3 separate regions of the Homo sapiens genome follow, and regions 1 and 2 are each linked to region 3. Evidence: promoter capture Hi-C in human tissues and cell types (Jung and others, 2019). All regions are on one chromosome and are shown on one strand. Each heading gives the region's core, a stretch centred on a gene start or on the middle of the fragment in contact. The rest is flanking DNA. Distances are from core to core; before and after follow the strand shown.

Region 1 (3,212 bases), core at 114-2,613, 160 kb after region 3:
GCAGTTCCTGGGTTTTGTATACAATTAATGTAAATTGACCCCAGGATAACTTTCTGTTTCTAATAAAAGGATGAAGGAAAAAAAGAGATCGATCATATGATTGTTTTGTAGTTCCTAGGACTTAGGCTCTTCGTAAGATTCTTCTTTCTGTTTCTTTTTTTTTTTTTTTTTTTTAAGACAGAGTCTCGCCCTGTCACCCAGGCTGGAGTACAGTGGCTCTGTCTCAGCTCAGTGCAATCTCTGCCTCCCAGGTTCAATCCCTCCTGAGTAGCTGGGATTACAGGCACCCACCACACCTGGCTAATTTTTGTATTTTTAGTAGAGACAGGGTTTTACTATGTTGGCTAGGCTGGTCTTGAGCTCCTGACCTCAGGTGATCTGCCCGCCTCGGCCTCCCAAAGTGCTGGGATTACAGGCGTGAGGCACCACGCCCAGCCATTCTTTCTGTTTCTTAATGGAATAAAGTACCTATGAAATTACTCTGAAAACTACAAGTCCTGTATTACATACATATATTTATGTAATAAGCTGGTATGAGTATAATTTCTAGATAAATGATTGGTTTAAAAAGATTAGCTGTTGACTGCACATTAATTCCAAAATATTTTTTGAATACCATGTACTAGACACTGTTTTGGGTGTTGGGAATATAGTAATGAATAAAGCAGGTAAATCCCTGTTGTTATAGAACTCTGTATTCCAGTGGGAGAAACAGACAAAAAAGAAGATAGATAATAAAATATGTAGTATACCAAATGGTGATTGGGAGCTAAGAAATAAAAACAAAGCAGGCAAGGGATAGGGAGGGTAGAGGGGAGTAGAAATTTTACAGAGGTTGGAATTATATATCTATTTTCTTTCTCACCCACCCCTAATCAAGATTTGTAACATAATAACTTTGCCTTCTAATACCACATCTAAATGATGTTAGATCAGTTAGGCAAACGAAATCAAAACTTCTAATAATTTGTTTCATATATCTGTAAACCATATTTACAAAAAGTTTTACTTTTCAATATTAAAATGCAAATCAACACCATCATATTGTCTGATATCCTAATATTATAACCTTTTTAAATAATCTTAATACATTCACAAATATTTAAAAGTATAAAAGATTAAGAACGTGTATAATTACTGATATCAGCTATTGAACATACTTTTGTTTCTATATTGCTTAAAAATGTCAGTTGCTTTTAAAGCTGAAAGATAAAATCAAAGCTATGCTATTTAAATTTATTTGAAATGATTATTCCCTTGTAAATATTAATGTGAAAAATAAATTATTATTAAGAGGGCTGTGACCTGAAACCTTAGGTCAGTTTGATTATGATTTCCATACATAAAGAAAGGATGGATACAAGAATTCCAGAAGTTCCAGTCCTCTTTTCTAGAGCAGTCAGGAAGTTGTTTACTCTTTGAGGGCCCACTGCTGACGTCTGCTCACTGAGTAATGTCATCAGATTTCCTGGTGGTGGTTATTTTGGGGGGAGCAGTGGCAAGTAGTTGTCCGGCTGTTAGGAGACTCTGCTCCATAGAGGTCCTGAGAGCCGGATATACCCCGTAGACAGGATGTAAGGTTAAATGCAATCTAGTTAAGTAAATAAAGTAAGCGTTCAGTGGTAAAAAGGAATTGCTGAAACATGAATGTTTTAAAATGATATTGCTAAAATTTTTACGTGGCAAAATTCATAGTCTTAAATCTTTTAAAAGTGAACCCATAGCTGCCTTTATTTCTTAAAATAAATCCAAAGGTGAGTTACTTTTATAAGTTCACATCATAAATTTATGCTGTCCTTTGTCTGTACAAATCAAGTTATTTCACCAGCTTTTGGTGTAGACCACATATTCAGGATTGTTTACCTAGGAGGGATGAGCCTTTTGCCCTGAGCTATCCAGACTTTTATCTTTTCCCTCAGCTTGTGACCAACACTATGTAAATATGTATATACATACTTTTTACTCATGCTGGTCATTAATATTTAAACAATTCATTATTGTCTTTATATTTATTTTCCTTACCGGTTTCCTTAAGTTTGTACTGTTGATTTTCTCAAACTTAATGATTTGAAAGCTTAGTGTACTTATTTTGTGACAAAAAGGTTTTAGACTATAGATTTTGCCTCTCATTATAATTTAGCAGTAGTATCCTGTAAGTCTTACTACATAATATTCACTTTTATTTTCCAAGTTAACTGTAGGCATAGTTTGCATATCTCTCTTTGATTCATTACTTTTGTGAGTTAATATTTTTAAGTTTTCTAAGGAGGCAGGATTTTTTGTTGTCGCTTAAACTTAAGTTTTTAATTCCTAGTTTGCTTCGTTGAAGGATAAAAACTGTACAGTTTTTACTTTAGGAATATATTTTAAGGGTTTTTTTCTGGTAACCTAGTATATCATGTTTTTCTAATATTTATAAATATTTTCTTTCTTTCCATTCAGACTTTATTTTTTATCTATTTGATCCTTCTTAGTAAATTTCATGAGTATTCTGTCAGAGACTGAGACACCAATTCATATAAAGGACCCAGGTGGCTCTCTGACCCTGCTTTATTGTGGCAGTAGCAGCATCCCTCCAGTTTATGCTTTTTCTGCTTTCTCTTACGAAACTGTGCCCCATACTGTAGGACATAAGCAAAATGATTTTCTTTCTCTTCTTCCTGTCATTTTCTTCCTTTCTTCTTCCTGAGCAGTTCCACTGCATTCTCCAAGCAATAGGTCAGTCTCATTCATTTGCTCATTGCTTTAAACTTGTTCATTAAGTGCTGGTGCCACAAACAAAAAACTCATCGTTCAAACTGGTCTCTCAGAGCCTCTTGCTTTCCTTCTTCCTGTACCGTGAGAGTATGATGATTATACAGACCATTTCAAGCACTTGAAAGTTGATTTTAAAAAATAACAAAACAAAGCCGGGCGCGGTGGCTCACGCCTATAATTCCAGTACTTTGGGAGGCCAAGGCAGACAGATCACTTGAGGTCAGGAGTTCGAGACCACCCTGGCCAATATGGCAAAACCCCGTCTCTACTAAAAATAACAAAAATTAGCCAGGCGTGGTGGCTCATGCCTGTAGTCCTGGCTACTCGGGAGGCTGAGGCAGGAGAATTGCTTGAATCTGGGAAGTGGAGGTTGCAGTGAGCTGAGATCGCGCCACTGCACTCTAGCCTGGGCGACAGAGTGAGACTCCATCTCAAAAAATAAAAAATAAAATAAA
Region 2 (3,329 bases), core at 787-3,286, 140 kb before region 3:
CTCCTTTAGTTAAGGTCTCCCCACTCAAGTTAGGAAAAAAAAAAAAAAAATCACCGGCCAGGCATGGTGGCTCATGCCTGTAATTCCAACACTTTGGGAGGCTAAGGCAGGTGGATCACCTTAGGTCAGGAGTTCGAGACCAGCCTGGCCAACATGGCGAACCCCCATCTCTACTAAAAATACAAAAATTAGGGCCGGGTGCGGTGGCTCATGCATGTAATCCCAGCACTTTCGGAGGCCGAGGCGGGTGGATGACCTGAGTTCAGGAGTTTGAGACCAGCCTGACCAACATGTTGAAACCCCATTTCCACTAAAAATACAAAATTAGTCAGGCATGGTGGCGCATGCCTGTAATCCCAGCTACTCGGGAGGCTGAGGCAGGAGAATCGGTTGAACCCAGGAGGCAGAGGTTGCAGTGAGCCGAGATTGTGCCATTGCACTGCAGCCTGGGCAACAAGAGCGAAACTCTCTCTCAAAAAAAAAAAAAAAAAAAAAAAAAAAAAAAGCCAGGCATGGTGGCGTGCGCCTGTAATTCCAGCTACTTTGAAGGCTGAGGCTGGATTATCACTGGAACTCTGGAGGTAGAGGTTGCAGTGAGCCGAGACCACGCAATTGCACTACAGCCTGGGCTGCGAGACCGAAACTCCGTCTCCAAAGACAAAAAAAAAAAACAAAAAACAATCAACTTTTCCCTTTACTCTTTTGCAGAGAGGGAGGGTCTCGCTATGTTGCCCAGGCTGAACTCAAACTTCTCGGCTTAAGGGATGCTTTTGCCTCAGCTTCCACAGTAGGACCCAACTTTCTCCTTTACTCTTGGTACTTCTTGAGCTCCAGGCCTACTTTTCTCTCTCTCACTGCCAAACATTTGAAATCATCACCCTTTATTAACTCCATTGCTTCATTGGCTAACATACTCTTTAGACAAGCTCTTCAACTCAGTTCTGTGCCTGGTGCACAGCAGGCTCCGGCTGCATGTTAGTTCCAGCCATCTTGCACATTTGCATCTCCTTCCTGGAGAAGGAATTTCTCCATGGTTAGCAGTGTGTGCTCACTCCTAGTCACCAGGGCCTCATCTCCGTGTTCCCACACCCTGACCTTGCTGCCGCCCTAATGCTGCGGACCCAGTTTCCAGGTACGCCGGGTTCTTGGAAGGTCCTGCCGGTCACCCTCCCAGCCTTCTGCCAGACTCACTGAGTTCTCACCCTGCACAGTCATCGTTTCCCCAGTAACCCTGAGAGATCTCCCAGTCTACCTCTTCGAGGCACCCGTTGCCAGTCCTCCATCTCTGTTTGCCGCGCGTCCCTCGGTTACCCCAGAGGCAACACGTCAGGCTGCCCCGCACCTCCAAGCCTGCGCGAATGTCCTTGTAGCCAGCTATGACCAAACATTTAGGGCGCACCTGAGCGCCAGGCCCACGCCACCCCTGCTTGCTTTCACTTAACAGCCTCGACTAGGCCCCCTATGCGCCAGGTCTCAGTGAAGAGGACGCAGTCCCGGGTCCTGGGCGCTCTTTGCCGGGCGAGACAGCTGCGTAGGCAGATCCTGTTCCTCTAGTGGGCGGCCTCGGCCCCTGCCCCTGCCCCGAGGCGCGTCAGAGGACAAGAGGCCCAGGTCGCTGGCAGCGGCTGCCTGCCCGACCGCACAGGGTGCCTAGCACGGGTGGCGGGGACTGGAGCCGGGCGGGGGCCGGCCGGGGTCGGGGGTCCAGCCCTGAGCGGCGCCGTCCCCGCCCCGCCCCGTCCCGTCGCGTCCCGCCCCGCCCTACCCGCCGCCGCCGTCGTCGCCGTCGCCGGGCCTGCGCCGCGCAGCCCGCCTCGGGCGGGAGGCGGGAGGCGGGAGGCCGGGCCCAGGCCGGGGCAGCCCCTCCACCGCACCGTCCTGGGCCGGTGCCCAGGTCCGAGTCGCCTTCCGCCTGCCCCCCCCCCCCCCCAATCCCCCGCCGCGGCAGCCCCAGCCAGGTCCCGCCGCCAGGCCGGCTCCCGCCCCCGCTCCGCCCCCGGAGCCGCAGCCCCGCCCGCCATCGCCGTCGCCATGTTGTGGCTCCCGCAGCCGGCGCTGGGGACGCGCGCGGCCGAGACTCTGGCCTGCAGTCGCCGCCGCCGCCGCCAGGTAAGCGCCCCCCGCGGGCCGGGCCGAGCGGGGCCTGCGGGCCGGGGCAGCCCCAGCCTGGGCCCGGGAGGATCGCAGCCGGGACCGAGTCCGAGCCCGAGCCGGGGCCCGGCCCTGCAGCCTGGCGGACCCTGGCCGCCGCCAGAGGCGGCAGCCACTTCCCCCGACCGCCGCCTGGCGGGCCCGGGCCGCCACCCCACCCCGCCCCCGGCCGTCGGGCGCCGGCCCCTTCCGCCGCTGCGACCGCCGCTGCGACCGCCGCTCCTTGGCAGGCCGGGCACGCTGCTGTCCTCCGCGCTGGGCGGGACGTGCGGCCGCCCTCGGCGATAGCCGGCGGCCCCCAGCCCGGGCACGGATAACGGTGCCACTTTCTCCCTCTGGGACGGCCTGTCAGCCCGACCGTCCCCGCCGCCCGAAGAGCTGTCGCCGTCACAGGGCAGACACTTCGGGGAACGACCCTCTTTGGCGCTCCTCAGTACTCCCCTCCCCTGAGCCCAAGTTCTGACCCTGAGGAAGGTTTCTCCCGGAGCAGACAGGTATTCCTAGAGCTCCAGAGTTGGGGTCCTCAGGGGTGACCAGGCCTGTTGATCAGGGTGAAAATTGTCTCTCTGCAAGGGCTCTTCCTGCCAACGAGGGGGTTGGCGGGAGGCTCAGTGTGACCTGAGGGAGGACAGGAGAGCGTCTGCTGGACAGATGGCCTCCTGGCCTTGGATCAGCGTTTGTGAGGGGGAGGGGTCCGTATGACCTTAGGTATGCCTGCTCCTGAGTACTGCAGGATTATTGAAGCTGTTTAGGGATTTTAAACCATTTTTTGAGTAGGCCAAAGGTGGCATTAAAGGTCCTGGATTGGAATAAGTCCACAGGCCCACCCAGGGAAGCATGTTTGGCATCCAGGACTAGTCTAGAATAGGACTGGCAGTAGAAGAATGGGACTTGGGGAGTAAGACGGTATTTGGCTTATGGTTTGCCCACTTGAGTTCAGGCCTGTGCTCATGGAGGGCCTGTAGGGTGCTTCTGTCGCGGGTGCAGTGTGGTGCACAGTGTGGCAGAGTGCGGAGGATGTGGACAGACAGATTCCTGGCCTGGTGGATGCTTGGTGGTATTTTAGTAGTCTGTTTCCTCAACCTCACTGTTACGTTACACAGTGAAAGGGGCAGAAGTGTGGTGCTAGTGCGTCCATTTTGATCATTTTCCAATTTTTCAACTAGTTGTGGCTTTGA
Region 3 (3,376 bases), core at 213-2,712:
TTTGTATTTAGCTCTATGTCATCAATTTTTTTTTTTACAGGGTCTCACTCCTGTCGCCCAGGCTGGAGTGCAGTGGTGTGATTATGGTTCACTGCAGCCTTGACTTCCCAGGCTTAAATGATCCTCCCACCTCAGCCTCCTGAGTAGCTGGGATTACAGGTGCACGCCACCACACCTGTCTAATTTTTTCTATTTTTTGTAGAGACAGGGTCTCCCTGTGTTGCCCAGGCTGGTCTTGAAGTCCTGGGCTCAAGCGATCTACCTGCCTTGGCCTCCCAAAGTGCTAGGATTATTGCTACTTTCCAATATTTCTACTACAGACTACGGGAAGTCCATTTTTCAATGCCAAATGCAGAAGAAAAAGTTGTATGGATGCCCTTTCTGCCAATCATCCCAGGTTTAGGAGAGAAGAATGATGAGGTCATGTTCATGGAACTTGACGAGTGATAAGCCTCTTTATTTGTCCAGTGCTTGGATACACGAATCGATGCAATGAAAGAGACCTCGCCTGTGAAGAGCTAAGAAATGAGTGTGGGCAGAATCATGAGAAGAAAATAAAGAGATTGCTGAGCAACTCTTCTGACAGTTCTTGTGCTTTTTGAATGTTTCACTCACTACTTATAAAATAACCTATTATGTCAGAGCCTGGCGAGAAGGGATCCTCTCCAACTCTTTGACTAATAATTCCCTAAAACAGGAGGTGGCCTGCAGAAGAACTAAAACCAGAAAAGTTAGGTGGTTGCCTCTGAGGAATGGGATAGAGTTGGAGGGGTGGAGCAGCCCCTTTACTGTCAACCCTTCTGAGCTCTGCTGGATGGTGAGGGAAATTATCTATGTATATTTATGTGGTCCTCTCCCCACTCTGCCCTGGCCTGGCTCAGCTCTAGGTCTCACTCAGCGGGCGTCTGCGGGTGTGCCGGGCCTCAGAGGCTGTCTCCTTAGGAAACAGGCCACCAAGAAGCCCAAGGACATGCTGAGGTCCCACAGCTGGAGGGGCACAGCCGGGACACCTGAGGTCCTCCAGCTGTTGGTCTTTCCCTGGGGTCTCCACCCCAATCTATCCAGCCTCCCAACTCCCCAGCCTGTGGCTTTTTGCCACATTCCACCTGAAAAGACCGCTTGGCTTCTGGGGTCTGGGATCCCTGCTGGCCATGCCTCCTTGAGAGGAGGAGCAGGGGAGAAGCCCGGAGTCTCCTGGCCTGGAGGAGGGGAGCAGTGTGTCAGGACACCCCGGATGGGACCTGTGACAGCAATGACACCTGCCAGCCTGATGCCGCTTGACTCCCTGCCAGGTACTTCCTAAGCAGGAGCACGCTGACTCCTCATGTGCTCTATTACCCACCACCAGATGAGGCAGCAAGTTAACTTTGGCAGTCAGGAGTGGAGACCTTTGGGCTCCAAGCTCAAGGTCCACCCCAAGACACACAGCCCATTAAATCCTTGTTGTAGAGATTAGGGCCCACAACGATGTGAAGGTTATAAGCTGCACTGCATGGTTGCTGCTGGATGTGTTGTGTTCCTGGCTTCCCTCTGGATGCTGACAGAAACAAGGGTGAGAGAAAAGGACAGTAGGAGAGGAGGGAAGGCGGGACTGAAGAAAGGAGGGGAAGGGGGTAGCACAGGGCAAAGTGGAAAAGCAGGTAGCGTCCTTTTTTTCTTCACTAGGGCTTGGCGAAGACCCCTTCGAGGACAGCTCCAGGCCCATCCCTGTGGTGGCCACCCATGGAGACAGTAGTGCTGCTCAGAGGCATTTAGTTTTTGTTTCTTTTCTGTTTTTGAGGTAGAGTCTCGCTCTGTTGCCGAGGCTGGAGTGCAGTGGTGTGATCTCTGCTCACTGCAGCCTCCACCTCTCGGGTTCAAGCAATTCTCCTGCCTCAGCCTCCCGAGTAGCTGGGACTACAGGCACCTGCCACCATGCCTGGCTAATTTTTGTATTTTTAGTAGAGACGGGGTTTCACCATGTTGGCCAGGCTGGTCTCGAACTCCTGGCTTCAAGTGATCTGCCCACCTTGGCCTCCCAAAGTGCTGGGAGTGCAGGCATGAGCCACCGTGCCCCCCCTCTTTTTTTTTTTTAAAGGTAGAGTCTTGCTCTGTGGCTAGTTTTCAATCAAGGTAACACATGGGCTCTCAACAGTGTGCGGAACTCTGCTAGAAAAATCAAATTATGAGAACACTGTTACTGTGTGATCCCCTATTGGAAAATGAATAACATAAAATAACATACATTTAGGAAAAAAAAAGTGGAGAAAAGGCCAGGCGCGGTGGCTCATGCCTGTAATCCCAGCACTTTGGGAGGCCAAGGTGGGTGGACCACCTGAGGTTGGAAGTTCGAGACCAGCCTGACCAACATGGAGAAACCCCATCTCTACTAAAAATACAAAATTAGCCAGGTGTGGTGGCGCATGCCTGTAATCACAGCTACTTGGGAGGCTGAGGCAGGAGAATCGCTTGAACTTGGGAGGCGGAGGTTGCAGTGAACCGAGCTCGCACCACTGTACTCCAGCCTGGGCAACAAGAGTGAAACTCCGTCTCAAAAAAAAAAAAAAAAAGGAGGAAAATGCCACACAAACTCAATAGTGGTCATCCCTGAGGGCTCAGATTCCGGGGACTTTAACTTCCCTCATTCTGTATATTTCTCTAATGTTTAAATGTTTAATGATACACTTGTAATGCTTTGGTAATTCAAATGACAGATGAAGAAAAAATGTTTTCAAAAAGAGGGGGTGTCCATCCACCATCCTCTCCAAACTTCCAAAACAACCAGGAGGTGCCGGTACTAGCAAGTATTTATGCATCATAGAGGATTTTGTCCTGAGCGCGTACCATTAATTATTAAAGAGATGTTGTGAATCCCGTCAGATGAGTTTAATGTTTAGTGTGAGGACTGGAAAACTAAAGCATTCAGCCCTTCGCTTTGCACACCGTTGGCTTAGGTATTCATTTAACAAAGATGAAATGAAGGGGAAATGGTGTGATTTGGTTTTGTTTTCTTGACAGACCTGAAACACTTTTACTATTTCTCACAGCTACACTGCTTTCCTCATTTTCCAGCACAGGAAAATTGGTTGCTGTTATAATAAATCCCCATCTAGTGAGAAAGGGAGATAGAGAAAGATGCAAAATGAAAGATAAAATGCAAAAAGCTAACAGCCTGGCTGGGGAAAGGAGGCCATGGGAAGGAAGGAGGGGGAGGGAAATAATCACATAGGTGGCTTCCTGGAAGAAGCGGCCCTAATAGGCCTGGAAGAGGTCAGTTTGGGAACTGGGGAGAGGGCAGAGGAGGGCATCTCTGATGGAGAAGCAGCAGCCAGTGGGCAGGAGCTGCAGGGAGCCAGGTTGCAAGTGGGCCTGCTTCCTGTATCCCTGAGACCGTGTT

The links. The method cuts DNA at HindIII sites, captures the fragments that hold promoters and counts their contacts. A contact is called where the count stands out against the background at its distance.
Region 1: a fragment that was not itself captured here is called in contact with the fragment with the promoter of SLC28A1 in region 3 in 5 of the 25 tissues and cell types used here (aorta, dorsolateral prefrontal cortex, liver and 2 more).
Region 2: a contact is called between the fragment with the promoter of ZNF592 here and the fragment with the promoter of SLC28A1 in region 3, in 1 of the 25 tissues and cell types used here (mesenchymal stem cells).

What each region holds. Positions count from the first base shown.
Region 1 is chr15:85,045,912-85,049,123 of GRCh38, forward strand. The region is part of intron 1 of PDE8A (phosphodiesterase 8A); the gene reads left to right. Among named protein-coding and RNA genes, the nearest start is that of PDE8A, 66 kb to the left of the region's middle. RefSeq lists an enhancer at 1,274-1,443. The HindIII fragment of the contact is 7,626 bases long and covers 1-3,212 here.
Region 2 is chr15:84,746,556-84,749,884 of GRCh38, forward strand. It overlaps ZNF592 (zinc finger protein 592), which reads left to right and starts at 2,037. Exons shown (of 11, transcript NM_014630.3): 1 at 2,037-2,109. RefSeq lists enhancers at 1,189-1,488, 1,561-2,400, 2,929-3,008 and silencers at 1,559-1,978, 2,039-2,528. The HindIII fragment of the contact is 21,328 bases long and covers 1-3,329 here.
Region 3 is chr15:84,883,200-84,886,575 of GRCh38, forward strand. SLC28A1 (solute carrier family 28 member 1) reads left to right here and starts at 1,463. Exons shown (of 19, transcript NM_004213.5): 1 at 1,463-1,552. RefSeq lists enhancers at 542-1,042, 1,043-1,543. The HindIII fragment of the contact is 24,351 bases long and covers 1-3,376 here.